Linked DNA regions of Homo sapiens: region 2 is linked to region 1. Evidence: promoter capture Hi-C in 16 types of primary human blood cells and fetal thymus (Javierre and others, 2016). All regions are on one chromosome and are shown on one strand. The core of a region is centred on a gene start or on the middle of the fragment in contact, and the rest is flanking DNA. Distances in the headings are between cores, read along the strand shown.

The links. The method cuts DNA at HindIII sites, captures the fragments that hold promoters and counts their contacts. A CHiCAGO score of 5 or more calls a contact.
Region 2: a fragment that was not itself captured here is called in contact with the fragment with the promoter of KCNF1 in region 1 in 1 of 17 cell types (endothelial precursors); the score reaches 5.1 in endothelial precursors.

The regions. Positions count from the first base shown.
Region 1 is chr2:10,908,748-10,914,416 of GRCh38, forward strand. KCNF1 (potassium voltage-gated channel modifier subfamily F member 1) reads left to right here and starts at 3,187. Exons shown (of 1, transcript NM_002236.5): 1 at 3,187-5,478. The coding sequence starts at 3,680. The coding sequence ends at 5,164. RefSeq lists an enhancer at 232-732. The HindIII fragment of the contact is 10,094 bases long and covers 1-5,669 here.
Region 2 is chr2:11,062,389-11,068,057 of GRCh38, forward strand. No RefSeq gene overlaps it. Among named protein-coding and RNA genes, the nearest start is that of FLJ33534, 67 kb to the right of the region's middle. The HindIII fragment of the contact is 427 bases long and covers 2,495-2,921 here.

The DNA of each region.
Region 1 (5,669 bases), core at 1,937-4,436:
TGCTGAATGGACTTGGAGTCAGAGTCAGCCTCTGGCTGCTATGACCTGATTCAAGCCGTATTTATTTTTCCACGTCTGATATTCTCTGTTATTTTCTAATACTCAATACGTTAATTTCACAGCCAGCTACTGAGCCACGACCTAAAGTATGAAGTGCTGACTTGTGGTCCAGATGCCTCCAGGGCCGCTGAGACCCTCCGGGGTCTGTTTCCAGCTGACTCCACCAGCCTCAGGCCTGCCAGCCTCACCTCCAAACCGTGTGGCCCTTTCAGCTGAGCAGGCAGGTGGCACTCAGACCTCCAGGCTCAGCTCACGCACTGGCTCTTCCGGGGGCCTGAGTCTCCAGCTTGTCATCACATCTTTCTAGATTCTAGATTTGTCCGCCTGCCATCCTCTCAGCCTGGGGTCAATAGTGTATTAACTATGATTTCTTATTTTCTGCATTCCTGATGACTGGCAATGTGGCCTCACAGACTGGAGAGACTGCCCCTCCCAGTGGGTGACATCCTTAGAGATTGCGAAAGGCTGGAGCGTATCTTTCACAGGCAAACCCACCAATTCCAGGCCCAGACCCCCAACTTCCCCTCATCAAACTCTCACACACCAAGGCAATATTTCCCTGCCCTAAATCATCCCAGACCAGGGACCAGGCAACTAGAGACCACCTCTGTAGTTCAAAGCCCACCAGAATTATCCCAAGGAGCCAATCCTGGACTCTTTCCTCTGTTCTGCCCTAACTTTTCCCCCAGGAAACCCCAATAGAGGGCCTGGCCTCGTTTTCCCCTCGCTCCTGCTTCTGCCTGGCCACACCTGGAATTTCCTCTGGCGTGTCCTCTTCTCTCAGGACATGTTAGTAATGCGTTCTTTCAATGACATTGATCTCTCTAAATCCCAGCGGTATAATTTTAATGCACCAGCCTCTCCTGGGCCTGCCCAGGTATCTGCAAACTCCCGGGTTCCACAGCACCTTGTATTTCATGACGATACAAAGGAGTAGCTATTGGGGCTCTATCTGCTGAGGGAGATTCATCAGACACCCCGATGCAAACCTGAGTGAGTGAAGGCTGGGCTTCTAGGCAAATGCAGCCCCTCCCTCTTCCAACCAGATGGCCGCCCCTCAGCGCCCCCTGTGGAGAAATTCAGGAAGCACCACTCTTGTATAATACATATACCCCTCTTGTTAAGGTCATTACCCCAAACTGTTAATTATTATTTACAAAAAACATATTATCTACTAGAATATGAACCCTGTCCCCACACCTAGGGTGGTGTGTGTATGTGTGTGTGTGTGCATTTGCACACATGTGCCATAAGAGCTCGATAAATATTTGAATAACTGAGTGAATGAATGGGTATTTAGAAGCCCATTAAGCTCAGACTAGGATGCAATTTGAACTTAACCCTGCAGGTACTCGGACAGCTGATAAGGGGAGTAGCATGCATAAGGATTGGAAGAGGAAGCTGGGGTGTGTGTAGGAGGTGGTGTGTAGCACTGTACTGGGGAGAAGAATAGGCCTCAGAACCCAGCAGGACAATGGTTAAATCCCAGCTCCACAGAGTGATCTCGGCAGGTTACCTGACATCTTGTTTCCTTAGGGGTTGCTGGGAAATTAAATGACAAAAATGCAAAGCACTCAGAGACTGCACTCCGATGCCCATGGAGAATAAGTGGCAACTCTTATTATTACTCAACCTTTCTGAGCCTCGATTTCCTACTCTGTAGTAGCATGTCATTGTCTGATGCTAAATGGAAATGAAGTAAAATTTGTAAAACGAAGTTTCACTAAATAATACTTCATGTGATGTATTCTAATATATTCTGTTTTATGCTAACTCATTAAAGAAAAAAGAATACTGTCAGTGACCCAGTAAATTGATTTCATAATCCATTAACGGACATGTCCTTAAGTTTTAAAAAACCCAGCCTACAGAATACATTTTTAAATAGACTTTATATTTTAGAGCACAATTCAACAGAAAGTACAGAGAATTCCCACATGCCCCCTGTCTCCACAGCTCTCCCCTGCGCATCAACATCTCACACAGGGTGGGACACTTGTCATGGTGGACCACCCCACATGGACACGTCATCATCGCCCAGCACCGAGTTTGCATTAACATTCGCTCCTGGTGGTGAACATTCTATGGATTTTGACCATTGCATAACGACACATATCCGCCATTATGGTACGTTTCACTGCCCTAAAAATCCTCTGCTCTGCCTATTCATTCTTCCCTCCAGAATATTTTTAACACGATCTCGAGGCCATAGATGATATCAGTAATTTGCAGTATTGATGATAGTGGTGAACCGGAGGAGAGAGACACTGTTAGGAAGCTGCTGTAGTGGTTCAGGTGAGTGAGGACAGAAGGACAGCTGTGGCTGCAAAGGCTGGAAGAGAGGAGGGTGTGGGACACTGGTCAGGAAGAGACAGGCCTTGGTCAAGGAGTGAGGAACGGGGAAGCAGGAGCCACTGGACCCTAGGGGTCTGGAAGCTAGTGGCCTTGGTGTGGGACTGCAGAGAGATAGGAGGTGCCAGACGGCAGGGACTTCAAGGCAGAATTGAAATCTGCTGAACAGCAGGCGTCGGTCAGCTGGGACAGCCGGAAAGCTCGGGATCAGGAGGCGGTCAAGCTGAGCTCTGCTCTCATTCCGCCGCGTGACCTTGGGCAAGTCCCTTCCCTTCTACAGGAGGCTGGACTAGATGTCCTCCTTGTACAGCGTTGCGGGGAAGGTGAGACAGTGCCACCAACACAGCAGGGCATTGCTGGGTCGGGGGGATGGGGCAGGAAACGCTTCAAGGATCAGGCAGGATTTTCCTCCCACCAGGAAAAGCCGGCGCGGGTCTAAGGCCGGAGGAGGGACCCAGACATAGGAGTCACCTTCTAAGGGGCTTCCTGGAGCACATTTTCCTGCCCAGCAACAGGCGGCAGCATTCTCTCCCCACTAATCCTCTCCAAACAGCAGTGAGAGAGAATGCCTGCCGCTTCAAGCCAGGTCGCAACCCCTCGGTGACCCGCTGCGCCCGAGGAGGGGCCGGCGGTGCGCGGTGGTGGCGGCGGGCGCGGCAGCTGTGCCCGTCTGCCCAAGGGTTAATCCGTCCCCTGCAGCTGCCGCGCGTGCCTTGCAGAATTTCACCAGAAGAGGGTACAGTTTGAAAAGCTCCTGACGTCAGGCTGGAATTCCTATTGTGTTTAGAAAAGGCTCGGGCAAAGCCAGCCCAAGTTCGCTCTCTGCACACCTCGAGCACCTCGCGGACGGCGTGGGTCCGCCAGCTCCGGGACCTGCCGCCGCTGCCTGCGCGCCCCGGGGCGGAGGACGGTGCCAGCCGCCCACGAGGAGACCCCGCTCCCGCAGGAGGCCGAGCTGAAGCGGCGGAGCGCGCCGCCAGCCAGCCGGGGTGAGTGCCCCGGGCGAGGCCGGCGGCCGCCAAAGCCCCCGCGGGCTCGCCCGGGCGCCCGGATGCCAGCCCCGAGCCCCGCCGCCGGGTGCATGCCTCCCCCGCGGCGCGCCCCCGCAGGCTGCTGCCCGCTGTGACCGCCCTTCCCCGCAGGCGGGCGCCGGCCAGGCTCTCCCCGAGATCAGCGCACGGGTGGCACCCGCCGGACCCCCAGCGGCAGCGGCGGCGGCGGCTGCAGGGGGCGCGGGGCGGAGGCTGCGAGGGCGCGCGCGGGGAGGATGGACGGGTCCGGGGAGCGCAGCCTCCCGGAGCCGGGCAGCCAGAGCTCCGCTGCCAGCGACGACATAGAGATAGTCGTCAACGTGGGGGGCGTGCGGCAGGTGCTGTACGGGGACCTCCTCAGTCAGTACCCTGAGACCCGGCTGGCGGAGCTCATCAACTGCTTGGCTGGGGGCTACGACACCATCTTCTCCCTGTGCGACGACTACGACCCCGGCAAGCGCGAGTTCTACTTTGACAGGGACCCGGACGCCTTCAAGTGTGTCATCGAGGTGTACTATTTCGGGGAGGTCCACATGAAGAAGGGCATCTGCCCCATCTGCTTCAAGAACGAGATGGACTTCTGGAAGGTGGACCTCAAGTTCCTGGACGACTGTTGCAAGAGCCACCTGAGCGAGAAGCGCGAGGAGCTGGAGGAGATCGCGCGCCGCGTGCAGCTCATCCTGGACGACCTGGGCGTGGACGCAGCCGAGGGCCGCTGGCGCCGCTGCCAGAAGTGCGTCTGGAAGTTCCTGGAGAAGCCCGAGTCGTCGTGCCCGGCGCGGGTGGTGGCCGTGCTCTCCTTCCTGCTCATCCTCGTCTCGTCCGTGGTCATGTGCATGGGCACCATCCCCGAGCTGCAGGTGCTGGACGCCGAGGGCAACCGCGTGGAGCACCCGACGCTGGAGAACGTGGAGACGGCGTGCATTGGCTGGTTCACCCTGGAGTACCTGCTGCGCCTCTTCTCGTCACCCAACAAGCTGCACTTCGCGCTGTCCTTCATGAACATTGTGGACGTGCTGGCCATCCTCCCCTTCTACGTGAGCCTCACGCTCACGCACCTGGGTGCCCGCATGATGGAGCTGACCAACGTGCAGCAGGCCGTGCAGGCGCTGCGGATCATGCGCATCGCGCGCATCTTCAAGCTGGCCCGCCACTCCTCGGGCCTGCAGACCCTCACCTATGCCCTCAAGCGCAGCTTCAAGGAACTGGGGCTGCTGCTCATGTACCTGGCAGTGGGTATCTTCGTCTTCTCTGCCCTGGGCTACACCATGGAGCAGAGCCATCCAGAGACCCTGTTTAAGAGCATCCCCCAGTCCTTCTGGTGGGCCATCATCACCATGACCACCGTCGGCTACGGCGACATCTACCCCAAGACCACGCTGGGCAAGCTCAACGCGGCCATCAGCTTCTTGTGTGGTGTCATCGCCATCGCCCTGCCCATCCACCCCATCATCAACAACTTTGTCAGGTACTACAACAAGCAGCGCGTCCTGGAGACCGCGGCCAAGCACGAGCTGGAGCTGATGGAACTCAACTCCAGCAGCGGGGGCGAGGGCAAGACCGGGGGCTCCCGCAGTGACCTGGACAACCTCCCTCCAGAGCCTGCGGGGAAGGAGGCGCCGAGCTGCAGCAGCCGGCTGAAGCTCTCCCACAGCGACACCTTCATCCCCCTCCTGACCGAGGAGAAGCACCACAGGACCCGGCTCCAGAGTTGCAAGTGACAGGAGGGCCCCTCAGGCAGAGATGGACCAGGCGGTGGACAGATGGGTAGATGTGGCAGGCATGTCATCGACAGCACAGAAGGGCTGTCCTGTGTCCCCCCAACCCTCCCCTGGACAGACTCTGAAGGCCCTCCCGGCACCTCTGCCAAGGCTGGGTAAGACTCCTCTATGTTGCCTGCTGTCCAGGAGCCCGGGAGGGAGGGGTGTGCAGGAGCCGCAGGGCCGTGTGGGACGAGTGGAGGCCGCGGCCTGGCTGGCACGAGAGCCCACGCCCGCTTCTGTATCTCCCTCAATAAAGCCTCCTGCTCTGTGCACCCTCCGTGTTGTAGGTTCTGTCACAGGCTGGCTGTCACCCCCAAGAGTAGCTCAGGCACACTTCAGTGCCAGGCCAGGAGGTAGGTGTGCAGCCGGGTGGTGGGGGAGTTATTTTTAGTGGGAACTAATTAAAGAAGGGCTCATAGTCAGGTTCGGCGCCAAGGAGCCTTACCACATTCCTGGAGGCTCT
Region 2 (5,669 bases), core at 1,458-3,957, 150 kb after region 1:
GCCAAAAACAAGCAATGGGGAAAAGATTCCCTATTTAATAAATGGTGCTGGGAAAGATTCCCTATTTAATAAATGGTGCTGGGAAAACTGGCTAGCCATATACAGAAAACTGAAACTGGACCCTTCCTTATATACCTTATACAAAAATTAACTCAAGATGGATTAAAGACTTAAATGTAAAACCCAAAACATAAAAACCTTAGAAGAAAATCTAGGCAATACCATTCAGGAAATAAGCACGGGCAAAGATTTTATGATGAAAGTGCCAAAAGCAATTCCAACAAAAACTAAAATTGACAAATGGGATCTAATTAAACTAAAGAGCTTCTGCACAGCAAAAGAAACTATCATCAGAGCAAACAGGCAACCTACAGAATGGGAGAACATTTTTGCAATCTACTCATCTGACAAAGGTCTAATATCCAGAATTTACAAGGAACTTAAACAAATTTAAAGAAAAAAACAACCCCATCAAAAAGTGGGCAAGGATATGAAGACACACTTCTCAAAAGAAGATATCTATACAGCCAACAAACATGAAAAAAAGCTCAACATGACTGATCATTAGATAAATGTGAATCAAAACCACAATGAGATACCATCTCACACCAGTCAGAATGGCAATTATTAAAAAGTCAAGAAACAACAGATGCTGGTGAGGCTGCAGAGAAATAGGAATGCTTTACATTGTTGGTGGGAATGTAAATTAGTTCAACCACCGTGGAAGACAGTGTGGCAATTCCTCAAGGATCTAAAGCTAGAAATACCATTTGACCCAGCAATCCCATTCCTGGGAATATACCCAAAGGAATATCAATCATTCTATTATAAAGATACATGCACACATATGTTTATTGCAGCACTATTCACAATAGCAAAGACTTGCAACCAACCCAAATGTTCACCAGTGATAGACTGGATAAAGAAAATGTGGTACATATACACCATGGAATACTATGCAGCCATAAAAAGGAATGAGATTATGTCCTTTGCAGGAACATGGATGAAGCTGGAAGCCATCATCCTCAGCAAACTAACACAGGAACAGAAAACCAAACACCACATGTTCTCACTCATAAGTGGGAGCTGAACAATGAGAACACATAGACACAGGGAGGGGAAAGACACACATTGGGGCCTGTCATGGAGGCAGGAGGAGGGAGAGCATCAGGACTAATAGCTAATGCATGTGGGGCTTAATACCTAGGTGATAGGTTGATAGGTGCAGCAAACCACCATGGCACACGTTTACCTATGTAACAAACCTGCACATTCTGCACAAGTGTCTGGGAACCTAAAATAAAATAAATTTTTTTTAAAAAAGAAAGCACGAAAATCTCATTTAAAAAAAGTTTTCTATTCCTACTTAGTTGAGTGTATTTAAGACAACTGGATATTTAGTTTTGTCAAATGCTTTGCCTGCATCTTTTGTGATGGTCATATAGTTTATATTTTTTATTCTGTTAATATGATTAATTACATTGATTGACTTTCAAATGTTGAATCACCCTTGCATTCCTGGGATAATTCCCATATAATCATGCTGTATTGTCCTTTTTATATATTACTGGATTCAATTTGCTAATATTGTGTTGAGGATTTTGTATCTAGGTTAATGAGGGATATTTGTAGTTTTCTTATAGTGTCTTTGTCTTGTTTGATATCAGAGTAACGCTGGCCTCATAAAATGAGTTGAGAAATATTTCTTCCCCTTCTACTTTCTCTAAGCAATTGTGTCGAATTGGTATTATTCTGCTTTAAAGAATTTGCCAATGAAACCACCTAGTCCTGGACTTTTCTTTTTTTTTTTTCCAGAAGATTTTAACTATGAATTCAATTTCCTTAAGAAATGTTGATATTTATAGTATATTCAGGTTATGTATTTTTAATGAATGTTGGTACTTTTTCTTCTTCAAATAATTAGTCAGTTTAGTACAAGTTATCCTGCTTAAAGGCACAGGGTTGTTCATAGTATGCCCTTATTATGTGAATGTCTGTAGGGTCTTTAGTGATATCCCACACTTGCATTTCTGATTTTAGGAATTCGTGTGTCCTCTTTTCTTAAAAAATCGTTTTTAATTGACAAATAAAAATTGTATACATTTATGGTGTACAGATAATGTTCTGATACCTGTATACATTGTAGAATGACTAAAGCAAACTAATTAATGTATTTACTCACATATTTATTTTTTGTGTTAAGAACATTTCAAATCTACTGTCTTAGCAATTTTCAAGTATATAGTACATTGATATTAACTAAAGTTATCACGTTGTACAATAGATCTGTTGGTTCCCTTTTTCATATTGGTCAGTTTGGCCAGAAGTTTATTAATTGTGTTGATATTTTACCAAATACCGATTTGGGGCTTCATTGATTATTTTCTATTATTTTTCTATTTTCAGTGGCATTGATTTATGCTGATATCTTTACTAGTTCCTTCCTTCTTCTTGAATGTAGTCTGTTCTTCTTTTTCCAATTCCTTAAGATATAAGCTTGGGTTATTGACATGAGCCATTTTCCTTTTCTAATATAAGCATATAATACTGTAAATTGCTTTAAACATTGCTTTAACTGCATCTCAGAAATTTAGATATCTTGAATACGTCATTCTTCAAGTTTGGTTTCCCTTCCCAATCTGCCTGCTATTTTTAACTTTTCAGTATATTTTGTCCGGAGCTTTTAGTTGTAATTGGTGTGAGGGAAAGGCTGTAGTGAGCCTAGTTCAACCTGGCTTACACTAGACATCTATACAACCTATTATATTAATTATATCACTTAGTTCTATATCCTTAATTAGTTATTTGGCTACTTGATTTATCATATGCTAAAAAGATGAATTAATATCTTCTACTATTAATGTGTTTCTTTTTCTCCTTGTATTTTCTGTAATTTTTGCTTCATGAGTGTTGACTCATGAAGCTTTATAATTGGAAGGCATCTTAGTTTGGGTTTCACAAAAGGTATGCTGTACTCAGTTTATAAGAAATTACCACCAACGGAGTGCCTTAAAACAACAGCCATTTATTTTCCCACAGTTTATATTGGTCAGAGGTCAAGACATAACCTAGCTTCTCTGCTCAGGATCTCAAAAGGCTGAAGTCAAGGTGTTAGCTGGGGCTACGATCTCAGGAGGTGGGAATCTTGGGGTCATTTTAGAATTCTGCCACCACGTGGACCCTTAGACAAGAACTTGGGTTGTTTATTTGGAAGGTGATCCCGGGAAACAGGAGTGAGAGAGTGAGAAGTGAGACAGGGGAGAAGTGAGGAAGGAAGAAGCCATGGTCCACATACATTAGGGTCACTGCTGCAGGTGCTCAGAGGGTAACTGGCATCTCTTATGCTAGAGAAAGTCAGGGACCACGAATGTATGAGTCTGTATGCGATTGCCTGTGAAGATGGAGGAATTAAATAAGGGGAAGGTGAGCAAAAGGGGTGAGGGGAAGAAAGATGAGAAGCCAGGTCGGGTAGGAAAAGAAAAGTACACCGAACTGGGAATCAGGAGCCTGCATTCCAGTCTGGCTCTGCCACAAATTTCCTGGGTCATAGACCTTTCTGAACTGCAGTATCCCTGGCTGTAAATACATAAAGTTACATAAACTTCCTCATAAGCACTTTACTAGCAGTAACAATCTATGACTCCAAGACAGATGAACGGCGACAGCCCTAACTGGCAATGCCAAGAAATCTCAGAATAAACAAACAGCATATAATTGTACGCTGAGATTCTAGAGATGGCCACACAATGAGAGTCATGCCTAGGCACTGAGAAATGTGGACAGAGGAAATACCCTGGTATCTTCCACCTGAAGCAGCAGCCACCGCTGTCAGAACCCTCTGGGGAGGCTGTGATCACCAAGAACCCAAGGGCTGGAGACGTTCCTTCTGACGGTGCTGAGAAAGTCCAGCTGCGGAGGAAAGGAGAGGGCCAGGCTATTCAGAAAGCTTCCCAAGGAATCCAAGCCTTCTCTCTCACAGGGAACATAGCAGGACGAGGTCGATCCACTGCCCGTTTCAAAAGACAGAAGGTGGAGCATTAACCAAGAAGATGCCAGGACCCATCAACTTGCATCAACTGTGATGGTAACAGAAGAAAGAGCAAATTCTGGCTGCAGGTCTGTCACCAAATTGGGAGAAGGCAGAGTCAAAATTGTGGTTCCAGCAAGACAGGGCTGCAAAGAAGCTCCTCCAGTTTGGAAGCAGATGCTACAGCCCAGTGAGATGGTGGTTGCGGTGAGAATGCACCTTTTCTTTTTTTTTCTTTTTATTTTTTTACTATTTTTTTATTATACTTTAAGTTTTAGGGTACATGTGCACAACGTGCAGGTTTGTTACATATGTATACATGTGCCATGTTGGTGTGCTGCACCCATTAACTCGTCATTAAACATTAGGTATATCTCCTAATGCTATTCCTCCCTCCTTCCCCCATCCCATAACAGGCTCCCGTGTGTGATGTTCCCCTTCCTGTGTCCATGTGTTCTCATTGTTCAATTCCCACCTATGAGTGAGAACATGCGGTGTTTGCTTTTTTGTCCTTGTGATAGTTTGCTGAGAAAGATGGTTTCCAGCTTCATCCATGTCCCTACAAAGGACATGAACTCATCCTTTTTTATGGCTGCATAGTATTCCATGGTGTATATGTGCCACATTTTCTTAATCCAGTCTATCATTGTTGGACATTTGGGTTGGTTCCAAGTCTTTGCTATTGTGAATAGTGCCGCAATAAACATATGTGGAGAGCGCACCTTTTCGATTCGTCTGCAGGGAAGTGATCGCTCAGGCCTTCGCTGACATGCTCTGAAACCGTTCCCTACGCTTGTGCTGAAACAATTCCCATCAGCCACTCCTAGCCACGACGGAGCATGCCAGGGACACTGAGGCAGGCCCATTCCTGGGAGATGGGTCTCCCCTGACAGGTGACTGTGGCTCCAAGTTTCACCAGGACGAGGCCGACCTGCCCTGAGAACCTCATGGTGGACTCAGCCCCCTCCTCAGATCCCCCTTCCTCTCCCTGCGCTCCTCTGATGGGCATCGCCATCCCACGGCTCGCCTCGCCTCTCTGCACCCCACCCCATCTTCCCCCACTTGCATGTCCCCTGATTTTCCGGCTTTACTTTTTTGCTGGTGTCTGCTCCTCAGAGCTCCCAAGCTCCACAAATGGTTCCAGGGATGGTCCAAGAAAACGGTCGGTCAGAGGAGGATTTGGGACCGGCTTGTCCACTGCCCAGAGGATGACAAGGATGCCATCCTGGTTAAAGACAGGACACTGATAGTTTCTGGAACCCGGGCCAGCTGAAGCTTCCCCCAGTAGTGACCTTGGAAAACCTCCCAGCAGAGGAGGGTCAACAAGCAGCTGTGATTCATGGGACAGCCGTCGGGCCTCTGTGGTAGCTCCCGAAGAGGCCCTCGTCTCTCACACGTGGGCTGAGCAGGCGCAGAGCTCCACAGCCATCTGCGCAGTCGGCCAAGCCAGATCTGCCATGCAAAGGTTGGGGCTCTAAGGAGGGGACCCTGGGACCCTGAAACATGGATGGCTGCCCCCAGGAATCCCCTGCAGGTCCCTCTGGCCCCTTTGTGCTTGCAGAGGTGCCCCACCCTTCCCTAATAGGAGCTAGCACTTCTGCCAGGATGGAGGATGCTGCAGGGACCACTGCCCCACAAGGCA